7 separate regions of the Homo sapiens genome follow, and regions 1, 2, 4, 5, 6 and 7 are each linked to region 3. The links are contacts of gene promoters, found by promoter capture Hi-C in blood cells and fetal thymus (Javierre and others, 2016). All regions are on one chromosome and are shown on one strand. Each heading gives the region's core, a stretch centred on a gene start or on the middle of the fragment in contact. The rest is flanking DNA. Distances are from core to core; before and after follow the strand shown. Region 1 holds the start of EIF4E3 (eukaryotic translation initiation factor 4E family member 3). Region 2 overlaps EIF4E3 (eukaryotic translation initiation factor 4E family member 3). Region 3 holds the start of PPP4R2 (protein phosphatase 4 regulatory subunit 2). Region 4 overlaps EIF4E3 (eukaryotic translation initiation factor 4E family member 3). Region 5 holds the start of FOXP1-DT (FOXP1 divergent transcript). Region 6 has its middle 65 kb from the start of EIF4E3. Region 7 has its middle 17 kb from the start of FOXP1-DT.

Region 1 (3,074 bases), core at 258-2,757, 1.3 Mb before region 3:
CAGTTCTAGGTCCAAAATGTCCAAAAACAAAAATCCACTGCTCTTTTATCCTTAACTGAGGGGAGGTGTTGAGGAGCTGGGGAGACAGACTGAAAGTAAACAAATTCATATATAATAAAATCCAGCTGCATTAAGCATTAGGAAGAAAAAGAAGGCAGGGCAGGAGAATACAAAACGAGGGAGCAAGGTTTCTATTTTAGATACGGTAGTCAGGGGGTCTTTCTGAAAAGATGGCACCTGGGTTGTCCCTTGAGAAAGCCATAATTCACCCCCTTCCTGACAAGGTCAGCTGCTGCTCATTATTGAATCTCCAGCGCATAGCAGGTGTGTGGCTCCACTGTAGGTGTTCAGGAAATACCTGCCCAGTGGATGAGGAAGAACTGGAAGAGGAGTCCACGGCAGCAGCGGCCGGACACGGGGTGGGAGCGCCCGCCGTGCAATAATCATTGCACCACCGCACACCTCCCAAGGGATGGGCAACTTTTCCGAGCGCTGTCACAGCTGAGGTCGTGTCCTGAGCTCCCAGGCGCCCCGCGGGGTAAGCAGGACAGCCCTCTCCCTGCAGCAGGGACGCGGCCACCCCCAGCTCGCCTACCCTCTCCCACGGCCCTGCCAGCACGCCGCGTTCCGATCGGAAGGGAACAAGGGGTAGAAAGTGTTGCCGAAACTTTTCGGGCTGCGCTGTCCTCCCCCGGCCCGGAGGCGAGGACGCCGAACAGCCGCCCGGCGCGGCCCGAAGCTGGCTTCCGACCCGGCGGGGCGAGTCCCGGGGTGCGCAGGCGGACGCGCGGAGGGGCCGAGGTCTGTGCCACAGCGGAGCGGGGCCGGGGCGAGGGGCCGCGCCGAGACAAAGCGGCGGTGGCGGCAGGACCCGGGTCGGGGCCGTGCGCGGCGGGCCCCGCGCCCCCTCACCTGTCGAGCCAGAAGGTCCAGGACGAGTGCAGCGGGACCCCGCCCGGCTCAGGCTGCAGCGCCGACAGCTGCTGCAGGCCGAGCGGCGGCTCGGGGGCGGCGGCAGCGGCGGCGGCGCGGGACCCCGGCGGCTCCCGGGCCCCGGCGGGGGGCGCGGCGGCCGGGGGCAGCGCCATTTTCTCCGCCCCGCCTGCAAGGCCGGCGGACGCGCGGACCGCGGGGCGAGCGCGGCTGAGTCACCCCCGGCCCCCGCCCCGCCCCGCCCCGCGCGCCCCGCCCCGCCCCGGGCTAGCCGCCCGCCGCCCGCCGCCCGCCGCCCGCCGCCTTCAGGGCCTGGGAGCCGCGCGGAGGGGCCGTGGGAGGCACGGCCGGGCCGGGGCCGCCGAACAAAGACAGACCCACGGAGGGATGGGGGGCCGATCCCGCTCAGGCGCGGGCCCAGCGTGGGAGACTGACGGCCTGGCCTGGAGTGGCGGCCGGGGACGGGCTAGAGGGCCCACGGGGGTGAGAGGGACCGGGGAACGGTCTGCGGGCTGGCTCTGCAGCCATGCAAAAGGGCAGCGGGATGGAGCGGCAGGCTAGGGACAGATGGAGGGATGGATGGGACAGGGGATGGAGCCCCAGACCCACGTGGTGCGAGGGAAGGAGGGATGGACAGACATACCAGCAGTCAGAAGGATGGAGTGAAGGCTGGCAGATGGCTGGAGGAGAGAAGGAGGGATGGAGGGCAGATGGAAGCACAGTTGGGTGTGACAGATAAATGGAGAGGGGAACCGATGGCCAAATGGATAAAGAGACTCCAGTGCCCGCGAGTACAGAACAAAGGGCGAGAAAGAAGAACGAACAAGAGAACCACCGACTGGGGCATGAGGTTGGAGCAGGTGGGCTTTGCATTCCTCTTGGTGAGAGCATACTTCCTAACTCCGCTGATTTGAAGGGGCCAGAGCCCCCATCCCAACCTCTGGAGCTACCATGTGACCACAGTGAAGGCCTCAAGCCTGGCTTAACGTGTGGCTAACTTCAGAGAACATTTCCCAAAATCAGCCAAAGTATCCAGATCTGCCCTAAAGCACCGGCGAGTCGGGAGGAGGAAAGCGGGCACCTGTGAACACAGAGCGCTCTGCTTCCTGTACCTCTGAGCACCCAGGAAGTCCCTTAGGCGGTGAGATTCCTGAGCCCAAAGTAGGAGGGGCCCTCCTAACACAGCATCTCCCCAGGTCTCTGTCACTTTCTTTTTCAAAAGAAAAGCAAAGGCATGAGGCCTGTGAACACACATGTCACAACCAGCATGGACATCCTCTTTACACTTGAATTTCTAGATAGTTCCTCTCTGGCTTTGAACAGTGAAGGGCGTGGGATGCCATCTCCTCATTGACCTTCTACCTGGCCTAGCATGTGTTCTGTTCATGCCTTGAGCATTCGCTGGGATGGAAGAGCTACAAAACAAGATGAGTTCAGGGGCATCAACAGCATCATAGCAGACTGTCATGAATCCCAGAGTAGATGCCCTCCCTAAAAGGTAATCAAGGTCACATAAAGTGACAATAATAAAAACAAGACCGCTGCTTTAAACTTAACTTCTATACAACATACAATGCTGGAAGCAATGACAGATTTTATAAAATCTGTCCAACACTAAAACAGGGGAGGGTGCTTTTGGTTAGATGCATTTATCTTGTTGCTTAATATCTCCTTTCATTTTTCCAAGAAGCGTGGTATATGGCATTGTTTAAACTGCTCTGAGCACTTTACCCGTAATAACTCATTTAATCCTTACAATAAGCCAATGAGGAAGATACTATTAACCCATTTTACAGATGAGGAACAGAGATAAGATTAAGATAACCCCAAGGTCACAGAGCTAGTAAGTGGGACAGCTGGGATTTGAACATAGGTATTCAGACTCCAGAGTCTAGACTTTCAACTGCCAGACTCTCCTACCTCTCTACACAGAACACTAACAAGTCCACAACGTAAAAACAAGCTGTGAATAGTAGGTCTCCCTCCCTCCCAAGACTATCAATCTTCATTCCCAGAGGAAACCACTGGCAACAGTTTCCTTCCAGAAAAATGCAAGTATGCACATGCAAGCATATATCTAGATTCATAAGTTATAAATCTATATCTTTTTTATAACCAAAATGGAAGCATTTAATACCAAT
Region 2 (2,881 bases), core at 271-2,770, 1.3 Mb before region 3:
GTTTTCATGTTATGCAATCCAACTATTATTTTCCTTTTATCACTAAAAAAAAATGTTTTAAAAAGGAAAATTAAAGATTTGTGTGCTGTCAGTGCAAAATCACATTAAGTATGGTTTTTCTTTTCCCTGGGACAGAAAAAAACAATGCCCAGCTCACAGTACATAGGAATGTGTCACAACAAATAATCAGAAGACAGATTTCTCCAAGCTAGTGTTCCTCCTTGTACAGTGTGGTATTCAAAAGCAGTATTGTCACGATTATGCATATTCTCATTAACTAGGTACAGCAGAGCTACTTAAAGGGAAACCCATTTCTTGTGCCTCAATGAAAGGGGAGTGTAGAAAACAATAATTAGGCTGAATAAGGAATTTTAAACGGCAAAAAAAAAAAAAAATCAGAGTGAAAAGAACAGAGAATTTAGAAAGCCAAAAAAAAAGTTTTTTGTGTGTGTTTTTTTTAAAAAGCAAGTAATGTGACGGTAGAAACCCACACAATCTCCCCCCACCCCACCTGCCACTTTGAGTCCTAATTGCCCATCTGCAAGGACAGAAACCCACTCTAAATTGACCAGCATCGGCTTCGGCAAGTCTTCTCTTCACTCTCCCTCCTGTTAAGACCGTTTCCAAAACCAATCAGCAAAGGACAAAGAATTCTTTACAGAGTGCAATTAGTGTTTTCCACGTCCACCTTCAAAAGCATGATGCTCTTCATGGGCTAAAGGACAGAAAAAAAACAAAAAAGAAAAAAAGGAAAGAAAACTTTAAGCAAAGGATGGGCCAACCCTCCTCTAGGCATCTCATTCAGCTTCCCCAAATGTTGGCAAGAACTCAAACACCTTATTTATTTATTTATTTTTTTGCCAGTAACTGTTAGCTAAGGCGTGCATTTCCTGAGAAACGTAATAATGAAAATTAAAACAAGGAATAAACAAGCAATGGGCATGCTGCCTGTTTCTTCTTGCTGTGCCTGGGAGGATGAGTCATCTCAGCAAGCCGATGAAGAGAGTATGTTGGGCTGCAAGCAAATGCCGCAGGGGAAAATGTGCCCCACAAAATGCATTGCAGGGGGTGGGGAGAGGGGGTGCCTGACACAACCCAAGACAGAGCCGCTTACAAGCCTATCTTTAAAAATAAACTAAAAATAAAACAAAACAAAGAACCACACCAGGGTGACAGCAATTATATCTAGGTGCCCCTGCTCCCTACCTCTCAACACTCTCCATGGGAAATGAAGTTTCATAAAATTGCTAAGTTTTATTTTTCCAAATCAAGTTTCCCCCTGCCAATAGATATTCAGACCTATCATCTGGCTTGCAAAATTACTAATTTTAATTAGGAACTCTAGAATATATATATATTTTTTTGAGACGTAGTTTTGCTCTGTAGCCCAGGCTGGAGTGCAGTGGCGCAATCTTGGCTCACTGCAACCTCCTCTGCCTCCCAGGTTCAAGCAATTCTCCAGCCTCAGCCTCTGGAGTAGCTGGGATACAGGCGTGTGCCACCACGTCCAGCTAATTTTTGTATTTTTGGTAGAGATGGGGGTCTCACCATGTTGGACAGGCTGGTCTGGAACTCCTGACCTCAAGTGAACCACCTGCCTCAGCCTCCCAAAGTAGTGGGATTATAGGCGTGAGCCACCAGGCCCAGCCGGAACTCAGGAATTTAAAAAAATTATGCTACCAAAAATATTTTCAAACACTTAACGTTTTTTAAAGTAGAAGATGCCACAGGGAGACCTACGAAATACATAACATTTTCTCTAAGGCAAAAGACTGAGTGTGACAATCTACCTCCCGGATCTGGTTAACCATTACCAGGAAGCAACGTCTGATAAAGGTGGGGTGATTCAGGACTCTGGGTGCTTTGATCCCCAACACGCTACCCACACTTAGCAGTGAATGGGGTTCTAGGGAGGCAGATGGGCTGGCCCATTTCACCTTTTAAGCCCCTTCCAGTTCTGTTTTATTTTTCTTTTTGTTTTTTAAGACTGGGTCTTGCTGCTCTGTCACCCAGGTTGGAGTGCAGTAGCATCATGCTACTCGGCTCACTGCAGCCTTGACTTCCCGGGCTCAAGCAATCCTCTCACTTCAGTCTCCTGAGTAGCTGGGATTACAGGTATGTGCCACCATGCCCGGCTAACTTTTGTCTTTTTGATTGATAGAGACAGGGTTTTGCCATGTTGCCCAGGCTGGTCTCGAACTCCTGAGCTCAAGCGATCCACCGGCCTCAGACTCCCAAAGTGCTGGGATTACAGGCATGAACCACTGTACCTGGCCTCTGTGTTTTTCATAAGGACTAAATTCTTCAGACTATTGCTGAGGGGGTGGATGGAACGGGCCTATTTTCCCTTCAACATCATCTTGGACGTTCACCCCAACCTACTCCGCACTTGGATGAAACACTGGGAGAGATGCACTTTATACCTCCCAGGTCACCTCAGGTTGGCCATACTCCTAAGGGCAGCCTGAAATCTGAACTAATTTAATAGAACATTTCTCACAGCTTTAACTTTGCAAATATTTCACATTGAGTGTGTGTGTGTGTGTGTGTGTGTGTGTGTGTGTGTTTTCTTTTTAAGAAAGATATTTAGGGAAGATATCGAAGAAAACACGCTTTGATCTGCAAGGAAATTACACTATGCTTCAGGGTCAAGTAGAGGTACCATAGAACTACAGTGACCTGGTTTCCAAACAATAAATCCAGATATACAGACTATCCAAAGATCTGTGTTACTTCTAGGTGTGAGGGGCAGTCTGGGGTGGTCATAGTTGCAAACTACAATGTTGATGGGTTAAAGAGACAGTACAACAGAACATTCAGAATTGGGAGTGCCTAGTGAACAGGTGTACTGTCAGCCTTAGGTTACCTTGGGTAGAAAGGG
Region 3 (2,996 bases), core at 318-2,817:
CCACCAAGCCCAGCTAATTTTTTTTTTTTTGTATTTTTAGCAGAGACAGGGTTTTGCCATGTTGGCCTGGCTGGTATCAAACTCCTGACCTCAGGTGATCCGCCTGCCTCAGACTCCCGAAGTGTTGGGAATACAGGTGTGAGCCACCGTGCCCGGGCAGTACCTTTTCTTTTAAAAGCTCACAGATGAGTATAAAAATGTCCACGCACTGGCTGGGAGCCAGATGATTTGGGTTCTGGGTTCTAGTTCTGTCTCCCCAGACTTGCTGTCTGTGACACAGCTTTCCCATTTGTAAAATGTCAGGGCTGCAGAGGACTTCTGAGGTTTCCGCCCTCTCCTACCTCCTGGGAGATTATGTCATGTAATAATGCTAACAGTGGTAATAAAAACCCAGCCACGTTGAGTGTTCCAGGTTTCACGCACTGTGCCAAATGTTTCACATTTGCCATTTCACTCAATCCTCGTGGCCGTTTTACAACCCTCATTTTATAAATAAGAACCCTGAAGCTGCCTGAGTTTAGGTAACTACTTCAGGGCCACACAAGGAGTAAGTAGTTGAGTTGGGATTTGAATATTGATTCCAAACCTTGAGCTCTTAATGACTTTGCTGTATACATTACTTCTTGCCACAGGTGGGCCAGTGACGAACGAACGTTGGGTTAAGCAGGGAGGTATTCTTGTTAGGATTATTAGCAATGCTTAGTGTATGTATGTATTGTTAATTTTATTATTATTTTTTTGAAACAGTCTCGCTTTGTCGCCTAGGCTGGAGGCAGTGGCGCGATATCGGCTCACTGCAACCTCCGCCTCCTGGATTCAAGCGATTCTCGTGCCTCAGCCTCCCGAGTAACTGGGATTACAGGCACGAGCGACCACGCCCGACTACATTTTGTATTTTTAGTAGAGACGGGGTTTCGCCATGTTGGCCAGGTTGGTCTTCAACTCCTGACTTCAGGTGCTCCGCCCGCCCCAGCCTCCCAAAGTGCTGGGATTACAGGCTTGAGTCACCGCGCCCGGCCTGTATTTATTTTTATATAGAGAAGGGCGAGGGAGCGGGGTCATTTTGTTACCCAGACTGGTCTCGAACTCCTGGGCTCAAGCGATCCTCTCGCCTCGGCCTCCCTCCCAAAGTGTTGGGATCACCGGCCTGAGCCCCCTGCCCGGCCTCGCTCTACGTTTTTTAGGCGCATTCTGAACGTGAAGTGTATACACTGAATTCTCACAGCAACTGCATAGGGCATCAGTACCAGTGCCCTTACTGTACAGATGGGGAAAATGAGGCTCAGACAGGCGAAGTAAGTAGCTTAAGTTCACACAGAGAGGAAATGGCAGGGATTCAAAGCCTAGGAGTCCGCCTGCAACCCTCTCGCCTGACCGTCCAGTCTTCAGCTCCGCGGAGCCTGGGCCTGGGGCTGGGGCTGGGGCTGAGGCTCTGGAAGCCGCCGGGACGCAGACGCCACTGGGCCCCAGCGTCACACCTCGGCCGCGCACGCGCTCTCGGGTTCCGGGCCGGAGCGCGCGGCGGGAGCGAGGACGGCGGCAGGGAGCGTGCGCGCGGTGACGTACCGGGCGCCATGTTGGAGGGTTGGTGGTAGCGGCTTGGGGAGGTGCTCGCTCTGTCGGTCTTGCTCTCTCGCACGCTTCCCCCGGCTCCCTTCGTTTCCCCCCCCCGGTCGCCTGCGTGCCGGAGTGTGTGCGAGGGAGGGGGAGGGCGTCGGGGGGGTGGGGGGAGGCGTTCCGGTCCCCAAGAGACCCGCGGAGGGAGGCGGAGGCTGTGAGGGACTCCGGGAAGCCATGGACGTCGAGAGGCTCCAGGAGGCGCTGAAAGGTGGGGGTAGCTGCCCCCTCTCCATTCCCCCTCACCTTCTCCGGCTCGCTCTTCTCTCCTTTCAGGGCGGATGGTTCCGAGGACCGGGGCCGGGCGCGGCGTGGGGAGAGTGCTTCCCGGGCTCCCATCCCCCTCCACCTCCCCAGGGGCGGGGAGCCCTGTGGGCAGCTCTCTCCCGCCCCGCTCTGGCTTTGTGTCGGCCGCCGGCGTCTGGGCTGGGGGAGGGGAGCCGGGGAAACTCTTGCGGGGGCCCCAGTCTTTCTCCCACCCGTTCAGGGGACGAGTGGCGGACCCGCAGACCCCTCCCTCCCAGATATCCTCTTTTCTCCACCAGGCTACCCGTACGCTAGGCGTTGGGGTGGGAGAAAAAGTAAACGGTTGGTGGGGGCGGGGGTAGGGGGTAGCATCGCAACTTTTAAGTTGTCTCAGTATGCCTTTTTCAGGGCTTTTGAAGTCATCTTTCCGCGCCCTAATTTCGAGGTGGTTGCCTTCACTGTTCTTGATTGCACGCCTTCCACGCAACAGGCTTGAGAACAGTGGCTTACAAACTTCGAGTAGAGAGATTTCAGCGTTTTGAGAATTATTCTTTGACATTCAGAATCATTTGGGGACGGCAACTTGGGGTAGTTGGTGCTTCTTAGAAAGGCAGATTTATGGACTTAGATGAACAATTGGTGGGAGTCGGGGCCTGGGGATTTTTATTTTCACTGGATTCCCAGCTTAATATAATGCTGGTGTTCCCCCGGACCACACTTCGAGAAGCACTGCGTTAAAAATGGTTTGTGAAGTTGAGTGCCCCCTTTAGGAGGATTCTTGTTATCTGTAAAGAGGGTGACATGTTGGAAGTAGAACTTGGAGGATTGAGGTGGTAATTTGGTTGAGAGGCCTTATTTTTTTAATTTTGTATTTAATTGATTTTTAATAAGGTAAAGGACTAGGAGGAAAGTTTGTTTTTAGAGCGCTTTTGAGAAAACTGATAACGTTTTTTTTTCTTCCTTCATCTAGATTTTGAGAAGAGGGGGAAAAAGGAAGTTTGTCCTGTCCTGGATCAGTTTCTTTGTCATGTAGCCAAGACTGGAGAAACAATGTGAGTTGAAAACATGCATTTGTCGTTATAGACCAGTGCATTATTAAGAATTGCTCAGGAAAGGGAAAAAAGTATATTTTG
Region 4 (2,843 bases), core at 277-2,776, 1.3 Mb before region 3:
GTGAGGAGTTAAAAGCTACTGTATTAACAGTAGCTCCTCAAACACCCATCTGCCTCTATGGAGGTACCTATCCTGTAAATGCTTTGCTATTTGTACAAATAAGATTATTCCAATATTTCAGTTTCTGTGGTGTGAGGGTGGGTAGGCAGGGCTGGAATCTGAATCCAGGCAATTTGATTCCCAAACCTCTGTTCCTAACCACTCAGCTATTTTCTTCGAAGATACTACTATATGTTTTTGACACATCTTTCTCCAATCTTAGCAGCCAAGAATCAGGTCATGAAGCCACAGAAAGAGGGACACATGTTGAAGATATTTTCCCACCAGTAAAATGCCCATAATTCACAAGAGGCTGGTGGTTGTCAACTCCAGCCTGAGAACCTGGTTACGATGTGGCAATGACCTCTGTAGAATTTATGCACAAAATAACATTAAGAGGAAAACCCCTGCCTAAGGTAAAACTAAGAGGACTTTGGTGCTGGCAAACTTCAAGTCTCCTCAAAGGCATCACAAACCAAAGTTCCTGCCGTCATACCCCGGTCAAAGTTGTCAAATCTTGACTTTTTAACCTAGTACTTGAAGCACACTGAAAAAATACAACAAAACACTTCTTCCATTTCAAAGATCAGAAAAACACTAAAGATCATGCTAAGGATTGGAGCTTTAGAAGCTTCTCTTGAAAACAAAAACAGACAACTGATTCTGCTTGGCTTGGCAAATTTGACAGGAAGAGATTACAGCCCAAGAAGATCAGTGATAGACTTAACATATTCATTAAAGCACATATTTGTACGTTTTTGCTGAGCATAAAATAGGAGCAAAATATCCGGTCACACCATTAAAAAAAAAAAAAAAAGCCCTATTTGAAAAGCATGTGTCATTAAACTGGTCTGTTTCCCTGTTGCAAACCTCATCCAATAGGTAGAATATTTGTGAAGTATGTCTGCTGGTGAAATACCTACAGGAAGGAATCTAGCATTACTCAGCTCCTGAAAACCTCTTCCGCCCTTGCAGAAGTGAAAGGTCTGCTACAGCGGAAGCCTGGTAATTCAAGATTATACTCTCTGTAACACATCTTGAAAATGGAAACACTTAAATTTTACTATATATAAAATCTTGCAAATAGATTTCAGAAGCCTTTAGGCTTATAATTAATTCTGTTAGACTTGCAAATCCAAGATTGCAGTAAAAGTAAAACTAAGCACAATGTTTATTAATGATGGTTAAATGCTTTTTTTTCCCAAAAGCCTTGATAATCACCCTAAGACTAGGAGAGGTATAAAAGTTGAACATCATTCATTCAGTCAACATCTGTGACCATCAGTTGTGAACAGAGCACTGTGACGGGTCCTTGGGGAACTTAGCTGAATGCAGGAGGGTCAGCTTTTGACCACAGCAATCCACTCCTTGGGAGGTATGTTCTGGAACACCAATCTGGCACCTCTCCTGGAGAAACTGAGGCAGGGAAGACACCTGTCCAGTGGAGTCTAATACCTGGATTTAAGACCTAGGTTCTCAGCATAACCTTCACAGGTCATGTAGCCCGTGAAACCCACGTTGCCTCCTCTGTATAAGGATACAGCTATTTCACTGGAAAATGTAATGATGAAATGCAAAGTGAAAGCACTTGCTAGGCCTAAGGAAGGAAACAAAGTATGGTTAGACCCATTAATATGCTGACCACTTGATAAATCCCCAATCTGATAGCACTGATTGGAGCAACTATGCCCCACCTTACAGCCTTCTGCCAAATAGATAATCATTCATTACCAAGAAAACTGGCAAATTTCCTCCTCAATTTCCTACTGAAATGTTCTGAAGAAAAAGAATGCACTTGGAAATTCTTCAGAAGAAAAGATGTCATGTGTTGACAGACAACAAAGTGATATGTCTGTTTTGTAAAACAAACCAGAAACAAAACCACCCAGCAAACACACATCAAAAAAAAAAAAAAAAAAAAAAAATTCCAGGATTTATTCCAAGGTTGTGGCATGTGTAGCAAGAGAGTATTTCCAAAAAAACAAAACAAATATTTTTGCTCATTAGGTATTACTAGTTGCCTGGGGCTTCCCACCAACTGAATAAGTGGTATTTATGGGCAGGGCCAATAGGCATCTGAACCGAATAGGCAACTGAAGAGTTTAATGGATGTTTTTAACTCACAGCAGACACAAAGGCTGAAAGCAAAGTGCTTCTGATTTACAAGAGCTAGGTACTTGAGAGAGAAATGGGTTTTCCTTTGAATTCCAAAAAGGGCTTGGCTTAAAGAGAGAGCCCAAGTGTGGAGTTGTGATCATAGAGTAAACGAGATGTGACAGGATGTGAGGGTAATTTCCCACCACATAGAAAGTTAGTAAAAACCAACTCTGAGTTGGGGAGTTAAAAGCTTGGAGAGAGAGGACAGTGGGGTTAAAACCCTGAAAGGATGGGAGAGAGCCCCACCCAAAGATTGGGGATGCCTAGACCAGAGGAGTGTGGAACCTGCTTCCTGGTACAGCCCAAGAGGCTCCAAGACTCCCAGAAAAGGCCCTCATTCCTACAGCGCTGAGCAACATGGCGGTCAGGTCTGAGAACAGCTGTGAAGGCAGGAGGGGTTATTCTGGCCGGGAGGGCCTGCCACAACCTTATAGAGTTCCCCTCATTCTGGTGGGGTCGGGGGAAGGCAGCCAACATTTCCTAAATCTCCAATCTGGAGCTTGAAATTGCTAGAAAGCCTAAGGACAACAGGGCCTGGGGTCTGGATGTGTGTGTACATAGCAGGGGTCTTCATAACATGAGGTTACAGCAGGGCCAAAGGTGGTGGGCATGGCCCAAGGTCAGGAGGGGTCAGGGGTATTTCTGCA
Region 5 (3,145 bases), core at 49-2,548, 1.4 Mb before region 3:
CAGGGAGGGGGAAGTGAGGGGCGTCCAGGCAGGATTGGAAAGAGGAGAGGGAGGCAGAGCCCCGCGGACCAGAGAGAGGAAGGGAACGCCAGAGCAGTCCCTGGCAACAGAGGGATCTGGCAGGAAAGACCTGGAAAATAAGGGGCAGGGGGGCGGAGGGGGAGATTCCTCAGGAGATGGGAAATGGGGGGCCCATTCAGACAGCGGAAAAAACGAGAAGGGAGAGTGTTAACTAGGGACGAAGATGGGAATGCGATGGCTATTTGCTTGGATTCTGAGCTAAAAATATGAAAGGGAGGGGAGAGGACAGGCTAGAATGTGAGTTTCCTCCAGTTAAAAGTGAAAGTGTTTTGCCATCAGTGACAGTTGAAGGAGAGCGGGGTGGGAGGTGGTGTTTTCAACCCCCTTTCTCCCTCTCTCCCGTCCTCCCTCGGTCTCTCCTCTTTCTTTCTGCACTTTGTCCAATGAAAGAAGGCGAGTTCGGGAGGTGAAAGTTCAGCAGAAGGACAAACCCCTGTTTGCAAGGAAACAGAAACCCCGCCAGCCAGCGAGGGGTTTTCTCCCCTGTTTCTCGGAATCAGGAGAGTGTGAATGTGGGACGAGCTTCTGCCCCCTTGTCAGAGCCACTGCAGGAATGTGCAATCGAGTCCACTTTGGGGGAAGGTGGCTGCATCAGGAACTGTGTTCTTGCCACGACTCCTCTTAGGAAAACGCCTGGGGGCTAGCATGTCAGTCCGTTGTTTAACACAAATTACCTGCTCTCCCAGTGATCAGTCACGTGCAAAAAGCTTTGTCCAATTCTTTGAAAAGGTGAGATTTTTTTTTTTCTTTTTGCGGTTTTTGAAGTTTGGTTGAATTTAGAAATTCGAAGGAATAAACTAAGAGCCTGAATTAAATGTTTTGAAATATACATACATAAAACAAAAGACACTAGTATTTCTTTCACTTTTATCAATACGCATAGAGAAGGAAGCAGAGTATGTGTTTCCAAAACGTGACTTGGAAAGCTGTAAGACCTCTATGTCTTGTTGTTGTTGTTGTTGTTGTTGTTAACAGAAGTAAATTTTTTCAGACCCACCACCACAGAAGTGGCCAGACTCCCAAACCAGCATTTCCAGCTACTGGCTGGCTGGTGTACACCAGGCCAATTCTTTATGAGAATATATTAAAAGTCACCCCTGTGGATTCCTACAAAGTACTTCCCCTTGCGGGGAGGGGAGAGGCTTACTGTCCCTTTGGTCTTGAGACCAGCACAGTTGTAGATAATATCCTGAAAAGGTTATTATTAAATTCTTTCGCGTAATGCCCCTTTACAAATATTGTTAAACATTAATTTACAGAAGAACTTAAATCTTAATTTCAAGGGTGGCATAAGACTATCGCTTTGAAATTGTATCTTTCGCAAGTTAAAAAAAAAAAATAACAAAGCCATTCGCTGATGCTACAGAATAAAAGAAAGGGAGGCTGCTAAGGTAATTTCAGCCTGGTAGAATTCACATTGCATGCATGCTGCATAAAGTTCCATGCTATCCAGATAAGACTATTCACTGAATCTTTTAGACTAGAATCTAGACCAATAAAATGCATTTTAGTTTGTATGGAATGTCCTAGCTTCCTAGAGGCTAGGGTTCGACGTCTTGTTTGTCAAGACATAAAGGGATTAATGACATACCCACTGTGTGCTAGACCACAGAGTGGGCACAGAGGGATGAAAAAATAAAAATTCCTGCCCTTGAGGAGCTCACAGTCTAAGCTGTCAATAATAACATCTAACATTTATTAAATACTATGATCTAGGCACTGAACTAAAAGCTTTATGTCAACTCAGTTAATACTGCCAACAACTCTTTGACATCACTGGAAATTCCATATGCTGAATTCACACGGAATTAAGTGGAAATCTACAAAGTAGCCAGTCTACTGGTTCTGTAGTGGTCAACCTATTAAAAATGGTTTTTAATTTCTAAAGTACTTTATGCCAAATATAACATGTTTATGGTATATGCCTGACTGTAGAATTATAACTCAGGGGAATAACGACTTATTTAAATGTAACAGATCTATTCATAGTCTGTAAAGAACAATTCATCCTCTGATCTTGTTTTTCAGATTAAGCAGTGTGTTTATTAAAAATTATTATCATCGCAATACTAAAAAGATCTTTAGATTGCTGCTAATCTGATTCTGCATTTTAACTGCCTTAAATTCTACATTCACTTGCAAGTGGGGGCCACAGTCAGGTTGGCAACAAGTTTTGCAGACAAAAGGAAATCCTGGTTGTAAATCCCATGATATATTGTACTCAATTTTGTATGATACTGTCTAATGTGCTGTGCTGCCTTATTAAAGAACTCGATGTCCATTTGGTTTACATTAGAGGGAAACTTAACTGCAGCTTAACATATTGTTCATTTTCAACACTGTCACGTTACATTCGTGGGGGGCAGATTTTAATTTCTTTATCAGTAATCAACTGGAAGTTTCTTTTTGTTAAATTAAAGCAAGAAAGGTTTTAAAATAAAGGGCATGGGGGTAGGACGCCACCTTTTGGTGATAAAACAAATAGAAATCCCTTCTGAAAACAGATGTTCCTGACATAATTTTATTTTTAATTACACCAAGGCAAAGGTGCTTGTCCCCATTTCGTTATATTTTAAGTAACAGGAGAAAAAAAAAACCAATGTAAATGCAAAATTAGCAAATTATAGTTAACTGCAGCCAAAATTTTCCCAAACGTATCAGAATATGTTAGTCCCCTGTCACATTACTGTTGATTGTATACACCAAACATGAGCTTCATTCACCAAATACCATGTCACTAAATATATGTACATTTGGGGAACAGAAACTGGAGTGGACATTTACCACCTGACGACGTACCTGAATGCTCTTGTAAGTTTTGAGTTGAACAAAAACTAAAACCACTTAATTTAGTGTTTCTTTAACCACAGTTACTGGTGTCCTGATTTTTGCCATATCTATATGACATAACAGTTCCCGAATAATTAATATACCATACTCATTGGAGGCCACTTATTATGGTAATTGTAGCAAACATTTTCATTTAAATCAACCTTCTTTTAATTTTTTTCTATTACTGCCTTAAATGGGAAATCAGTATCACCCACCATAAATTAAAAACAAG
Region 6 (3,063 bases), core at 14-2,513, 1.3 Mb before region 3:
TTCACATCACAAGGGTAGGAGCAGTTGCCCTGAGTCCTGAGAGCACACACACTCCCACTGCACTGGTGGAACAAGCTCGTTCCTGGAAACCCCCCAGTGATGCAGGAGAGTAAGGGAGACTCAAGCCCGAAAGAGCCTTGAAGGCCTGTCTAGAGGCAAGGGCTGGTTTGCTGTCATTGACTGTTACCCACATCACACCAGTCGCTAGCCAGCTTTACAGGGCTGTCATAGCCACAGAGGTGGGGTCTACAAAGACTATCATGTGACAGGCCTGAAATACATGATAATAATAGTTATGCCCATTATATAGACAGGGAAAGCTAGGCTAAACGAGGTTAAACAACAGGGCTAAAGCCATGTATGGAACCAAGATATGAATCAAGGCGAGTTGGACTCGCAAGCTTGCGCCTCTCAACCCTGATGTATGATTGGAGAATCATAAGTGCCCATTTAATGACAGCATAAAGGAGCTTCCCTCCTAGAAAGAGCCATGGCATCAAGTGGATTTCAGATGTCCATGCTCATCTAAATGTCGCTCTTGAGGATTCGTGTAAAAGGCAGGCATGGACCCAGTTGCTACATGTTTTAATTATGGCATCAGACTTATTACATGGAAACTGCTTTTCTCAAATCTGAATAGAACATACTGGTCTCAGCCATGGCATCAACTGTGACAGGGGCACAGATCGTCTTCTTGACAGGATGTGATTCTTATGTTTGGGCACTCTGAATGGGCCATGAGTTGAGCCTCTGTTGTTCTGTGTGAACTCTGAGGATAGGGGTGGAAGGAGAAAGCGTGTCAAGATCTAATTCCATATTGAGAATAACATTATTACTTTAAAACTTTTATCAGGGTAGAATACTGCCAGGATATATTAAAAACAATAAAGGTTCACCAATTAGAAATGTAATTCTCACACTGTGGTCACAACACAGTTCCTATACCCACAGTCTTCTGATTCCACATCCTGCTTCTCCATCAGGTATTAATATTTGAGTACGAGATAGTCACCTGGGGGCAGGAGGGTGCTTTCATGAGAACAGAACATAAGGCAGTTAAGTTTTGTTAAGAAAGCGGGGAAGAGGCAGGTACATTACTGGGAGGAGGCCAAAGTGTAGATTATTCTAGAAGTAATCTAGGACTTTGCTATTCAGCCTGTGGTTCACAGACCAACAGCATGGGTGTTGCCTGGGAGCCTGACAGATGTCAGAATCTGAGGCCCACTCCTGGCCTAAGGATCAGAGTCTGTATTTTAATCAAATGCCCAGGCAGTCAGTATGTATGCTCATTGCTGCTGGAGAAGCTCTGCTCTAGGGGGCCCAGCCTCTGCTCACACTCAGTGGGTAGGACTTGGTGGGGGTGGTGTGAGCAGAAAATGAAGCTGTAAGAGATGGGAAGGTACCCAAGTGTTTGCCTAAGAGGTTATCCTGTCTGAATCGGCTGGAGGGAAAAAAAATTCTGTTCTCCGATGATGAGCAGGCTGCGGCTGCAGTTGCACACAGCGTGATGACCATCTGTGTATAAAAAGTGAAGCTGAAAAAAAAAAGAAAGAAAGAAAGCCAAGAAAAGAAACACTGTGCAGGAGTGCAGAATTGCTACAGAGGCTAAGCATGGCCAGGTGTTTAAGCAGGAAAGCCAGTCTTGAAGATCAAAGGCAAGTCGATTGTAAAAGAGAACATCTTGCCCACCAAACCCGGGCCCTCTGAATGGAGAGAGAGCGACATCTGAATAGACCAGATGTTAGCAGCCGAGGGATCCTTAGAGCCTAGAATAAACTCACCTAAATAGCTCTGTGGCATCAAAACCTCATTATCTGCCAGGCCCACCGCTAAATACAAACACAGGTTCTATCAGCTGATGTGAAAGAAGTCCTTCCAGGCACCCAGCTGAGGCAGTAGGAATTTTCAGTCTCTGTTGTAAATGGGCAGTAATTAATTATAGGACAGACACCGAAGCCCAAAAAAATAAGTTCTGTTTTGCGGATGACAAGGAGATGTCGTTTTTGGAAAGAGCTGTGTGAGCACTTCGTGGTAACCAGTCTGGGGCCATCACAGGTGCTATCTCCTGCAGGCCTGACACGGGGCAGGCTGGTTATTTTTATGAAGGATGAGGGCCTGGGGCTCTGAAGCTTCCACCCCCTCATGCTTGCACTTCAGTTCCAGTACCCCAACACCATCCTTCCACCAGCAGCCCAGCAGAATCGTGGGGCACTGGCAGGGATGCGAGCGTTTCATCAACTTGTGAATTTTCCACAAGTACAAGCTGGTCTCCTCTTAATTGCCCCCACAGAGATTCTCATAAATACTTTTAAATATAATAATTGTTATTGTTATTTTACTTTGTTCTTCTAGATGGCATTTTTCCTTCAAGCAACTCAAAAGAATGATTCTGAAGTTATCCAATTAATCTTTGCAACATTCCTGTGAAGAAGAGGGTTGGGGGGCGGGGGCGGCAGTTTCTTTACGTTTCTGGAGGAGAGGGAAGGAACAGCAAGGTTAAAGGGACAGAGTGAAATAAAGATGACCCTGAAATAGAAACTGGGAAGCCTCGTGCTCCCAAAGGGTCCTCAATTTCCAAGTTTATTATCATCCAAAGTGTGCAACTGCTTAGGCCAGTACCCTATGTGAAAAGCACTAGTATTCAGATCTTGCTGTCACCTCTCAGGAAGTCATGACTTTGTGCAAGTCATTTAGCCTCCTTGGGCCTCCATTTCCCATGCGTCAAATAAAGAGGATATCTTAATGGAATGTGGCATAGAAAAGATCCAAGGCCTCTCCTTCAGGGTAGCAAACCCTCTGGAATCCAACCGCAATGGGCTCCTTGCAGTTTTATGCATGAGGCTGTTTTAGGCTTTGCAGTGGAAATGGCACACTTTGGCATGACATGGAGCAAGAGAGTCCAAGGACAGGCATGATAGACATCCTGATTCAGATCTTAGTTCCAGCACTTTTTAAGTCCTATCACTTTCAACAGGTCACTTAACCACTCTGAGCCTCTGTTTCCTCATTTGTCAAATGGTGGATGGTGAGATAATGCTTAACACGAGTCTGGCATTGAGTAGG
Region 7 (3,042 bases), core at 328-2,827, 1.4 Mb before region 3:
AAAAGAGCTGGGCAATTAATATAGGACTCTGTAATGAAGGGGAAAAGAAAATTAAAAAAAAAAACCCACCCAAAAAGAAACTACAACAAAACCTGGATTTACATGCTTGCAGTGTATAATTTCAAGAGCTTCCTGTTTACTAACAACAACAACAACACACACACACATACACACAAACCACCCACATCAAATTTTCCAGGAAGTTAGAGATTTAAATAAAACATTTGGACTTCTTTAGTAAAACAAATGTAATTTCTTCCTAAACCACCTCTATCACTGATGGATGAACTGGTGTAGCTTTTATTGAAGGAGTAGAAAACTAATTCTAGGGGTCATATTTCTCTCTGCCCGAAAGATTCCAAGACATGTGGAGATAAAATAACAAATAATATATCAGTTTTTCATATGAAATAAGCTATTTTTTATCAAATCATCTTAAAGCAAAACAATCCGTCTCTGCAACACAAAAGCAAATAAGTATTGAAAACTTATTTAAGTAAGATCGATTTTGCTAATGTCAAGCTTAAGGCAACTCAGCAAGAAATGACAACAACTGTACTAAATTATCTACATTCGTGACATCTTAGCTGTGTCTACAAGGCACCAAAACACTGTGATGAAAAGTAAAAGTCAGTAATTGCCCAGATGTTATGTCTAGTCACCAACAGCTGGAACTTCCTCAGTATTTGCTCTCTCTCCCTTTCTCTCTAAGCATCTTTGGGAGTTTGCTAACAGACCTTTTCCCACCACTCCTCTCTGTGGCTTCACTCTGCTTTGGCCTTCGTGAGCCCCTTTTCAGCCAGGCTGCTCCTGGACTTATATGTTGACAGCTCATAGTGCACTGGGATGGAACCGAATTCTTGTCTCTTGGAATTGTCTGAATTTAAAAATGCCTTTTCTATTAAGTCAAAGCCTATAACTCTGCCGTGATCATTCTAAGAGTTAAAGGAAGCAGAATCACCTCCACAGCCACACCCTTTTCTTCTCTTCCAAATGTTCTTCTTATCTCAACCTACAGAAATGGCTTCTCTTGTAAGTAAAGGCTACTCCCTTCTCAAATCAACATCTTTAATGGCAAGAAGTCAGAATGAGAGTTCTCCAAACACCCTTCCACCTCTCCCCAAGCCTTCTTTCAATAATTCATTTTTATTTGGAGTTCCTACCCACAATGAAGCCACCATCTTTGCATCCAGAGAGTAACAGGACAGCATGCTTATGATAAGCTATAAAGTCACACAGCCCTGGGATCTAATCCTGGTTCAGCCACCTTATGACTTGTGTGACCTTGGGCAGGTCACTTCCCCTCTCCAATCTCCAACCTCCATGATCCACATCTGTGGATTGGATACATGCCTCACAGAGTTATTTGAGGATTGTGCTAGCTCAAGTTTTCTGAGAAGCATTCACCAAGAAGGGATTACACGTGCAAGAGACATATTGGAGAAAATGTCTGTGAGGGAAAATGGAGCTGAAGGAGGCTAAAAGAGTGTCAGACCACAAAGCTGGTCTGACTGCAATGAGGGAGGAAGGATTTTGAGTTGGGAAAGTCTTAGGTTATGGTGCAACTCCATCAAAGTTTCAGCAAGGTCAATGAAGCATCCTGGAGCCAAGTCACTTGTGTCTCATGGTAATGGGCCCGCATTAGTATTCCTGTGACACTCAGACATTGGTCTGGAGAAGGCTGTGGGAAGCATGGCATTGATGCAAACATAGTGGTGAATTCAGTGTGCAGCAGTTGAGACCATCGGTCACTATATGCTTCTGTCAGCGGGAAATCTGGGAAGGGCTTCTTCATGGCCACCACCAGGATTAAATGTAATAATGAACCCGAAGCTCCTACCTCTACCTCAGAGTAAGAGTGGCATAAAATAGGGGTGATGGTGATGGTGATGGTGATGACAATGATGGTGACTCACTCTTCCTATTTTACTAAAGTTCTTTGACTCTGACTCACGGTTTTTATCCACACATGTTCTGCCATCATGCTGTGAGGCTGCAAAATCCTTGTTAATGAGCTAATCTGGTGTATCCGTGTTCTCCTGTACTCAATTGACCTTCCCTTCCAAACACTTCAGCAAACACCTACTTGGCAATAACCTACATTTTATCATCACCCAAACAATCAAGATGAATCTTATGATCATCCTAGCTGGATGAAATATTCCCAATCTGGATGAAATCCTCTCCATCTGGAGAGATATTCTAGGCTACTAATGTAGGAAGAAGGGACTGAGACAAATCCTGGAAGATGCCCTAAGTGGAGGACACAGAGGTGGGAGTCCAGAAAGGCCAAGGTGGCTGAAACTCACAGGGCAGAGTATGAGAGGAGAGAGCTAACTGCAGAGGGTGCTCCAGAGACTTCCAATGAGTCCCTTGATTATTCAGCTGAGACCTGATCAGTCATGCATGTAAGGAAACTGTCCAAAGTCCGGGGGAAAAAACACACCCAAAAAGATTAGAAAGAACAATTCCTAGAGAGCTCACAGATGGCCAGAAATAGCAGATGATCCCTATGGCCAGCGTGGAAAACCTGATAATTCACAAGGCATCAGGTAGAGTATTCAGAAGAGTCTTGCTTCAAGAGGTGGGAAATAACTAGCCCTCGATCAAATGCTGACCTGGTCCCACTCAACAAAGCTTAAAAGTAAGACCCGGCCGGGCGCGGTGGCTCACGCCTGTAATCCCAGCACTTTGGGAGGCCGAGGCGGGTGGATCATGAGGTCAGGAGATCAAGACCATCCTGGCTAACAAGGTGAGACCCCGTCTCTACTAAAAATACAAAAAAAAAATTAGCCGGGCGCGGTGGCGGGCGCCTGTAGTCCCAGCTACTCGGGAGGCTGAGGCAGGAGAATGGCGTGAACCCGGGAGGCGGAGCTTGCAGTGAGCCGAGATTGCGCCACTGCAGTCCGTAGTCCGGCCTGGGCGACAGAGCGAGACTCCGTCTCAAAAAAAAAAAAGTAAGACCCACGGCTGGGTGCGGTGGCTCATGCCTGTAATCCCGGCACTTTGGGAGGCCGAGGCAGGCAGATCACGAGGTCAGGA

Evidence for each region. The method cuts DNA at HindIII sites, captures the fragments that hold promoters and counts their contacts. A CHiCAGO score of 5 or more calls a contact.
Region 1: a contact is called between a fragment that was not itself captured here and the fragment with the promoter of PPP4R2 in region 3, in 5 of 17 cell types (total CD4 T cells, naive CD4 T cells, naive CD8 T cells and 2 more). The highest score is 7.3, in total CD4 T cells.
Region 2: a fragment that was not itself captured here is called in contact with the fragment with the promoter of PPP4R2 in region 3 in 1 of 17 cell types (total B cells); the score reaches 5.2 in total B cells.
Region 4: a contact is called between a fragment that was not itself captured here and the fragment with the promoter of PPP4R2 in region 3, in 9 of 17 cell types (total CD4 T cells, activated CD4 T cells, non-activated CD4 T cells and 6 more). The highest score is 11.6, in total CD4 T cells.
Region 5: a fragment that was not itself captured here is called in contact with the fragment with the promoter of PPP4R2 in region 3 in 1 of 17 cell types (fetal thymus); the score reaches 5.5 in fetal thymus.
Region 6: a fragment that was not itself captured here is called in contact with the fragment with the promoter of PPP4R2 in region 3 in 1 of 17 cell types (fetal thymus); the score reaches 5.5 in fetal thymus.
Region 7: a contact is called between a fragment that was not itself captured here and the fragment with the promoter of PPP4R2 in region 3, in 1 of 17 cell types (total B cells). The highest score is 5.1, in total B cells.

Annotation. Positions count from the first base shown.
Region 1 is chr3:71,724,280-71,727,353 of GRCh38, forward strand. It overlaps EIF4E3 (eukaryotic translation initiation factor 4E family member 3), which reads right to left and starts at 1,123. Exons shown (of 7, transcript NM_001134651.2): 1 at 913-1,123. The coding sequence starts at 1,088. RefSeq lists silencers at 528-647, 778-847. The HindIII fragment of the contact is 7,460 bases long and covers 1-3,074 here.
Region 2 is chr3:71,684,014-71,686,894 of GRCh38, forward strand. It overlaps EIF4E3 (eukaryotic translation initiation factor 4E family member 3), which reads right to left. Exons shown (of 7, transcript NM_001134651.2): 7 at 1-715. The coding sequence ends at 669. Among named protein-coding and RNA genes, the nearest start is that of EIF4E3, 40 kb to the right of the region's middle. The HindIII fragment of the contact is 8,614 bases long and covers 1-2,881 here.
Region 3 is chr3:72,995,244-72,998,239 of GRCh38, forward strand. PPP4R2 (protein phosphatase 4 regulatory subunit 2) reads left to right here and starts at 1,568. Exons shown (of 9, transcript NM_174907.4): 1 at 1,568-1,828; 2 at 2,834-2,915. The coding sequence starts at 1,795. LOC124909395 (a long non-coding RNA gene) reads right to left here and starts at 1,948. Exons shown (of 2, transcript XR_007095961.1): 1 at 1,864-1,948. RefSeq lists enhancers at 1,193-1,242, 2,503-2,552 and a silencer at 1,423-2,052. The HindIII fragment of the contact is 5,282 bases long and covers 1-2,996 here.
Region 4 is chr3:71,701,872-71,704,714 of GRCh38, forward strand. The region is part of intron 2 of EIF4E3 (eukaryotic translation initiation factor 4E family member 3); the gene reads right to left. Among named protein-coding and RNA genes, the nearest start is that of EIF4E3, 22 kb to the right of the region's middle. RefSeq lists an enhancer at 1,905-2,486. The HindIII fragment of the contact is 1,716 bases long and covers 669-2,384 here.
Region 5 is chr3:71,584,200-71,587,344 of GRCh38, forward strand. It overlaps FOXP1-DT (FOXP1 divergent transcript), which reads left to right and starts at 744. Exons shown (of 1, transcript NR_182289.1): 1 at 744-3,145. RefSeq lists an enhancer at 1-13. The HindIII fragment of the contact is 1,024 bases long and covers 787-1,810 here.
Region 6 is chr3:71,658,795-71,661,857 of GRCh38, forward strand. It overlaps a transcript of EIF4E3 not described here. Among named protein-coding and RNA genes, the nearest start is that of EIF4E3, 65 kb to the right of the region's middle. The HindIII fragment of the contact is 1,728 bases long and covers 400-2,127 here.
Region 7 is chr3:71,600,070-71,603,111 of GRCh38, forward strand. No RefSeq gene overlaps it. Among named protein-coding and RNA genes, the nearest start is that of FOXP1-DT, 17 kb to the left of the region's middle. The HindIII fragment of the contact is 2,115 bases long and covers 521-2,635 here.